Regions from separate parts of the Homo sapiens genome. Here region 1 is linked to region 2. Evidence: promoter capture Hi-C in human tissues and cell types (Jung and others, 2019). All regions are on one chromosome and are shown on one strand. The core of a region is centred on a gene start or on the middle of the fragment in contact, and the rest is flanking DNA. Distances in the headings are between cores, read along the strand shown.

The links. Contacts are between HindIII fragments. The study calls those that stand out against the background at their distance.
Region 1: a contact is called between a fragment that was not itself captured here and the fragment with the promoter of ADAT1 in region 2, in 1 of the 25 tissues and cell types used here (spleen).

What each region holds. Positions count from the first base shown.
Region 1 is chr16:75,036,870-75,040,638 of GRCh38, forward strand. The region is part of intron 1 of ZNRF1 (zinc and ring finger 1); the gene reads left to right. Among named protein-coding and RNA genes, the nearest start is that of ZNRF1, 40 kb to the left of the region's middle. The HindIII fragment of the contact is 4,304 bases long and covers 1-3,769 here.
Region 2 is chr16:75,621,944-75,625,461 of GRCh38, forward strand. It overlaps ADAT1 (adenosine deaminase tRNA specific 1), which reads right to left and starts at 1,338. Exons shown (of 10, transcript NM_001324445.2): 1 at 460-1,338. RefSeq lists enhancers at 1-91, 92-611, 612-1,131, 1,013-1,252, 1,132-1,651. The HindIII fragment of the contact is 9,595 bases long and covers 1-3,518 here.

The DNA.
Region 1 (3,769 bases), core at 390-2,889, 580 kb before region 2:
CTTAGAGTATATTCGAGAAGATGCTTGGACTATGCAGCACTTTTATAGGTCCAGTTGTGTTGATTTGGGAGAGAAGAGAGAAGGTGAGCATGAACTTGACAGTTCTTGTGTGCCTGTTCTGTGCCAGGCACTTGGTTAGTACTTTACACATGCTCTTATTTTTTTCCTCACAACAATCCCAAGAGGTGGAAATAAACTATTTCCATCTTACAGATGGGAATTGACAGAGCTAGAATTTCAATCTGTCGATTCCAGCAGCATCTTTTGAAGCTTTCATGATGAGCAGAATGGATGATACTGTTGAGATCTGTATTCATCCAGGATCTTTTGTTCCTCCTGTTTCAGCAAACTCTTAAGATTGGAACTACATCAGTAGATAGGTGTGCAATGCCAGTCTTTTGCCTCATTTATTAAACAAGGCAGCCGGGAAGTACTCAGTTTTAATGTCACTTGGTCTTCACTCTTTTGTTTTTTTGTTTTGTTTTGTTTTGTTTTTGGAGACACAGTCTCCCTCTGTCACCCAGGATGGAGGACAGTGGCGCAATCTAGTCTCTGCCTCCTGGGTTCAAGCGATTATCATGCCTCAGCCTCCCAAGTAGCTGGGATTACAAGTGTGCACCACCATGCCTGGTTAATTTTTTGTATTTTTAGTATAGACGGGGTTTCACCATGTTGACCACGCTGGTCTGGAACTCCTGACCTCAGGTGATCTGCCACCTAGGCCTCCCAAAGTGCTGCGATTACAGGCATGAGCCAGCATTCCTGGCCCACTCTTCTTGTTTGTGGGTAGATCTCCCCCACCCCAGACCTTCTCTCCAATTCACCTTTTCTTCCATCTCCTTTAACATTGTAAAAAATGGTTTCTGGACCCCAAATCTATGAATAGAATGTGCTTAGAGGCAGGAGAGTACTGAGCTGAAAACATCTCACTAACCACTGATTTTAGTTAGCATGGCCTTTAGAAAGGAGTTAAAGCACTCATATAACCTGTTTTCCTAATACAAAATTTGGGAAGCAACAAAACCTTTTGCTGACAAATGTGGAAAAGTCTATGATGAGGAAGTGGATTGGATCTTGCTTGTGAACACTTATTTTCTTCCTTCTGGTAGCTAGATTTCAAGCTTCTCTTATTCCTGAGATGTAGTGACCAAGTTCATATATGTTGACTATGATTGCATATCATTTACCTAGAAGAATATTCTAGGGCAGACTTGAAGCCTATTTTTGTTGTCTGTTGTTAGGCAACAAAACCTACCTCAAAACTTAATGGCTTAAAACAACATCTATTTTATATTTGATCATAATTCTATGACTTGGGAATTCAGGCAGGGCTCAGCTGGATGGTTCTTCTCTATGTGACTAACAGCTGGGGTGTCTCATGACATTGTAGTCAGTGACTGGAATGGCTAAGATGGCTTCATTCACACATCTGGCAAGTTGGTGGGCATGATGAGGAGGCAAAGCCTTCTCTCTCTCGCTGTGGCTGTCTCCCTAGTTGTGACTAGCTTGGCTTTTGTTATTTGGAAGCTAAATTCCAAAAGTGAGCATACCAGGCAGCAAAGGCAGAAGCTGTAATTCTCCTAGGGCCTACTAGCCTTGGAAGTTACATGATGTGGCTTTCTCCACCTTCCGTTGGTCAAAACAAGAATTTGGTTTGGCATTGTGACAAGGGGAAGGGCAGGAGAGGGGACATTGCTGAAGAGCTGGTAAGATGGACACTATTGTTGCAACTATCTTTAGAAACATAATTTACCACAGAACACTTTCCTTGGGGAGCTTGAGCCCCACTGTAAGCCAGTTAAATAAGAATCTCTGAAGAAACAGTAAGATGCTCTCCAGGAAGTCCTGTGTGTGTGTTCTTCTAAGCACGATCTGCAGTCTGGCTCTTTCTGTTTCATACAACATGGCATTCCAGTGTGCAAGATGATGAGTCCTCCCACTCCTTTGAGCCATACTGATAAGAGAAATTGAAAATAATTTAAGTGCTGTTATTTTTTTTTTCTAGGACACAGTCCTACTTCTGTAAAATTTCCCCATCTGCTCCAGTATACAGTGATGTTGAGTACTATTGTTTTATAATCACTGGTGAATTCCTGGTAAGAACCATATCTTCTTCTGTGTTTAATCTCTGTGTTAAGCACAGCATTACATTCCAGTAGGTATGTGATAAATCCTTGAATTGAACCATTGAAAATGGCACTGTTGCTGCTGTTCTCAGTGCCTATCAGAATTGTGCAGAATTAATAGTTCCTATAGATCTAACAATTACATACCCCTGTTAAAAATATAGAAAAAATGTGGTTTTGAAATGAACAGATTTAAAATTAGACTAAACTTGAAAAGTGGCCTAAATGTTTTTAATGGCAAAAACTTTCTGTTTTATTTATTATTTTTAATTTGTTTGGAAAACTTTTTTTTTTAATGTGGAAGCATATTTAGAATACTGTGAATAAATATAAGTTGCTTTCCTGCAAATTGCTTTATTTAGGGAGGCCAAAGGCAGAACCCTAAAGACTTTAGAACCACTTAAAATACAGATAATTTACTTGGTCATTTTCAACCCAGGAACACACAGATTTTACTCTTGAAACTACTTATAAAAATCCTTGGAGTTAATGGTATACGAGAGTGTTGTAGCTCATGGAGTACTAAACCATGAGATCAATCATAAGATTCTCCCTGATACTTGTAAGAGGTACAGATTCCCAGGTTCCCCTTTGTTAGAGATTTGGATATAATACATCTCTGGTGAGACTTTGAAATCTCTGTTTTTAATGACTGGTCCTGGAGCTTTTAGGAATGCAGATTTATGGGCCCCACCCCAGACCTACTGAATCCAGTGGGAAGAGAGGGGTTGGTCTGTCAACAGGTGTTCCAGGTGATTCTTACGTGTGCTGTTGTTGAAGAAGCACTGTTAATAGAGAAATCCCTTTCATAGTTCTTTGCCAGAAAACTACAGTTCTACCAGAAAGTATCCCAAAAGATTTTCACTGTATATAGGAACCTGCAGTTAGGGATCCTCCAGATGTTGTGGGATATTGGTTGTTACTGTTTTGAAACTGAGGTATAGTTGACATACCATAATATTCATACATTATAAATGTACAATGAGATTTAGTAAATATATAGTTATGAAACCATCACTAAAATCTTTTGTTTCTTTCTTTTCTTTCTTTTTTTTTTTTTTTTTTTTTTTTTTGAGTCTTACTCTGTCACTCAGGCTACAGTACAGTGGCATGGTCATAGCTCACCGCAGCCTTGACCTTCTAGGCTCAAGGGATCCTCCTTCCTCAGCCTTCCACGTAGCTGGCACTGCAGGCGCGCACCACCACGCATGGCTTAAAATCCAATTTTATAACACTTCCATCTCTCAAAAAGTCCTTTTTTTATTTTTATTGTTTTAAAACAAGGGCGTCACTCTGCCACCTAGGCTGGAGTACAGTAGTGAGACTGTAGCTCACTGCAGCCTCAAACTCTTGGGCTCAAGCAATCCTCTCACTTTGTCCTCCCAAAGTGCTGGGATTACGGATGTGAACCACCACATCTGAAAGGGCCACTTCAGAAAGTTCCTATGCCTGTTTTTAGTCAATCTCTGCTCCCCACCGGGCAACTGCTATCTCTCTAGATTTGCCTTTTCTGGGAATTTCATATAAATGAAATCATACAGTATGTATTATTTTCTGTTTGGTGTCCTTCACTCACCATGTTTTTGTTTTTGTTTTTTGTGGGTTTTTTTTTTTTTTTTTTTTTTTTTGAGACAGAGTTTTGC
Region 2 (3,518 bases), core at 88-2,587:
TCGAGGCCAGCCTGGCCAACGTGGTGAAACCCTGTCTCTACTGAAAATACAAAAAAATTAGCCGGGCGTGATGGCGCGTGCCTGTAGTCCCAGCTACTCGGGAGGCTGAGGCAGGAGAATCGCTTGAACCCGGGAGGCGGAGGTCGCAATGAGCCGAGATTGTGCCACTGCACTCCAGGCTGGGTGACAGAGCGAGACTCCCTCTCAAAAAAACAAAAAAGGCTTTCCTGAGCTCCAGTGCATGCAGCTTTTGAAAGATGGTATTGTTATGAATCCCCTGCAGCGCAACGTGCAGGCTCGCTACTGTAGTGAATGCTACTGGTAAATCAGACCACAGTGATTTAAAACAAAAATCTGCAGGAAGTGAGACCCTGTGACTTGAAAGTCAGAGGGCCAGGGCAAGCCTTGTCAAGAAAAGAAAGCATGAGATCCTAGAATCCTCGTTTGGAAGGGACTCACCTCTCATTTCTAGGGAGGCATCACAAGGCAGTATAGTTTATGAAGACCACCTGGCCATCGACCTGAAATTAAACCAGAGGTGCAATTCACAAACCTCGATAGGCAAGGCAGGTAGAAGTTGCCAGAAGAAACAGTGACTCTCTTTAAGATGAAGCAGCCCAGAACGGCATCATCTCACTCAGGTAGTGCGTCTGAATGAGCATGCACAATTGTTTAAATGAATAAATGTTTTGCTACACTGGGTCCATTATAATTCGAGCCTACACCCCCTCCTAGATCTTGAAAACTTGAAGAACTTCTTAGCTGAAAATAACAGCTCAGCTAAACAGGCATTTATTTGCCCACAAGACCGCATCTCTGAACAGTTTCAACAAGCTAAAAAAACTGACGTCCTTTCCAAAGAAAAGGAAGTCGGCTGCCAGGGGAGAAAAGGCTTCAGCGATGCTTGGAGGAAGGGACTCTGGTTTACGCTGGCTCCCTTCCTAAACACTTCCGGAAGCAGAGCCCCTTCCCGGCCGCTGGAGAAGCCTGGGTGGGACCCCGAGTCGGCCAGTTACAGGATAGGAGGTGCCAGGCAAGGCACTGAAGCCATGCAGTGAGAACAGCGTGAGCGCCTGATCCATTGGGTCCTGCGGCTGCCAGGCCAGAGGCCCCGCGCCAGGAGCTCTTCAGGCGCCGGCTGCTGACAGTTCCAGGCGTGGAGCGCCTTCCCACGTGAAACGCGTCCCGGAAGATACGATCCTCACAACCTCTTCCCTCAAAAACAGACTCGGCAAAGTTAGCCCGGATAAACCTGCCCCGTCGCCCCAGCGCCTCGCGGACGCTCCCCTCCCACCTTCAGGAAACGCGCCTAGAAGAAAGCGAGCTTAATCCGCCGGTAAGGCGGACGTGACGTCACAAAGCGCCGGTTCCTTTCGGCTCCCGCTCCCAGAGGCGCGCAGTGCATGCCGGGCCCTGTAGTTTTTCCGGGGAGTCGGTGCCAGGGCCGAGATTCCCGCGCTTCAAGTCCCGCAGCCCTGGCTGCGTCTTAGAGAGGCGTGAAACCGGATGATGGGAGCCGCTTGTTGGCTTAGATATTCCTTCAACTAGAATGACGTATCTTGCAGCACTCGGCTGAATTTTTTTCTTTTTCTTTTTTTTTTTTGAGACGGAGTCTTGCTCTGTTGCTCAGGCTGGAGTGTAGAGGCGCGATCTCGGCTCACTGCAACCTTCGCCTCCCGGTTCAAGCGATTCTCCTGACTATGCTGTATTTCTATCTGTAACATCACTGTCCAATAGATATATAATTCGAACCATATACGTAATTTAAAAATTTCCAGTAGCCTCATTAAAAGTCAAAATAGAAACAATCATATATATTTTATTTAACCCATACATCCCAAATAGTATTATTTCAACATATAATCAAAAAATTTTTTGAGATGGAGTCTCGCTTTGTCGCCCAGGCTGGAAGCGGCGCAATTTCGGCGCACTGCAACCTCCGTCTCCTGGCTTCAAGCGATTCTCCTGCCTCAGCCTCCCAAGTAGCTGGGATTACAGGCGCCCGCCATCACACCCGGCTCATTTTTGTTATTTTTAGTAGAGACGGGGTTTCGCCATGTTACCAGGCTGGTCTCGAACTCCTGACCTCAAGTGATCCGCCCGCCTCAACCTCCCAGAGTGCTGGGATTACAGGCGTGAGTCACGATGCCCGGGGTCGGTCTGTCTGTCTCATATATATATATATATATATTTTTTTTTTTTTTTTTTTTTTTTTTGAGACGGAGTCTCGCTCTGTCACCCAGGCTGGAGTGCAGTGGCGCAATCTCTGCTCACTGCAAGCTCCGCCTCCCAGGTTCACGCCATTCTCCTGCCTCAGCCTCGCGAGTAGCTGGGACTACAGGTGCCTGCCACCACGTCAGGCTAATTTTTGTATTTTTAGTAGATACGGGGTTTCACCATGTTAGCCAGGATGGTCTCGATCTCCTGACCTCGTGATCTGCCCGCCTCGGCCTCCCAAAGTGCTGGATTACAGGCGTGAGCCACCGCACCTGGCTGCCGAGTCTCAATATTTTAAAAAATACTTATGTTCTGTTCTGTTTTTAATGCGAAGTTTAAGAAATCTGGTGTGTGTTACACTTAGAATACATCCCAATTTGGATCAGCCACATTTCAGATGCTGGATAGTCACATGTGGCTACTGGCTACTGTAGTACAGTACTACTACAGTGTAGTGGGCAGAACAGGTCTAAAAACCTTTGGATTGCCGGGAATAAGTAATATAGCTGCCTGGATACTTCAGGGGCCTTTGTCACCCAGTAACTGAATGCTCTATTACTAAAAATGAAAGAATTCATTTTTCTTTGTTACCCCTCAAAAATTTATGCAACTTGCTCAACCCCATCCTTCTCTCTAGTTCAAAGGAAATGGGACATGGCCCTCCTCCAAGGCCAAAGACTTTGCTCCTCATTCCTCTCCAATATCTTTAATCTGCAAGTGACTGCCTCTTCTGTCTTTTAAGAAATATTCCAGTGGGGGTAAGGGGTATCAAAGACCTTCTTCTAGGGTTCTTTATCTCAGGGATTGGTATTACTAGCAATCTAGTTGCGTAACTAAAAAGTGAGTCATGTTCCTTGTTATCTCCCTTCCCTTAATCCCCTTAGTGCAATCCATTACCAAGTCCTGTTGATCTTACTTCCTATCTCTTGAATCCATCCATTTCTCTCCACTTGCATGCCAATACGCTAGTAAAAGCCACTATCGTATTCCTCTTGGATTGCTACACTCATCTCTGAATTTCCACCTTTTCTTGCTTAACTCCAATTCATTTTCCACAGAGCAGCAAGACTAATCTTTTCAAACTGCAAATCTGGTGTCAGATTTGTGACTACTACACATTTACTGCTTAAATAATACTTCAGTGAATGCCTTCTCGGTACTTTTTTTTTTTTTGAGATGGAGTCTCACTCTCCTACCCAGGCTGTAACGCAGTGGCACAATCTCGGCTCACTGCAACCTCCGCCTCCCAGGGGCAAGCAATTCTACCTCAGCCTCCCCAGTAGCTGGGATTACAGGCACAT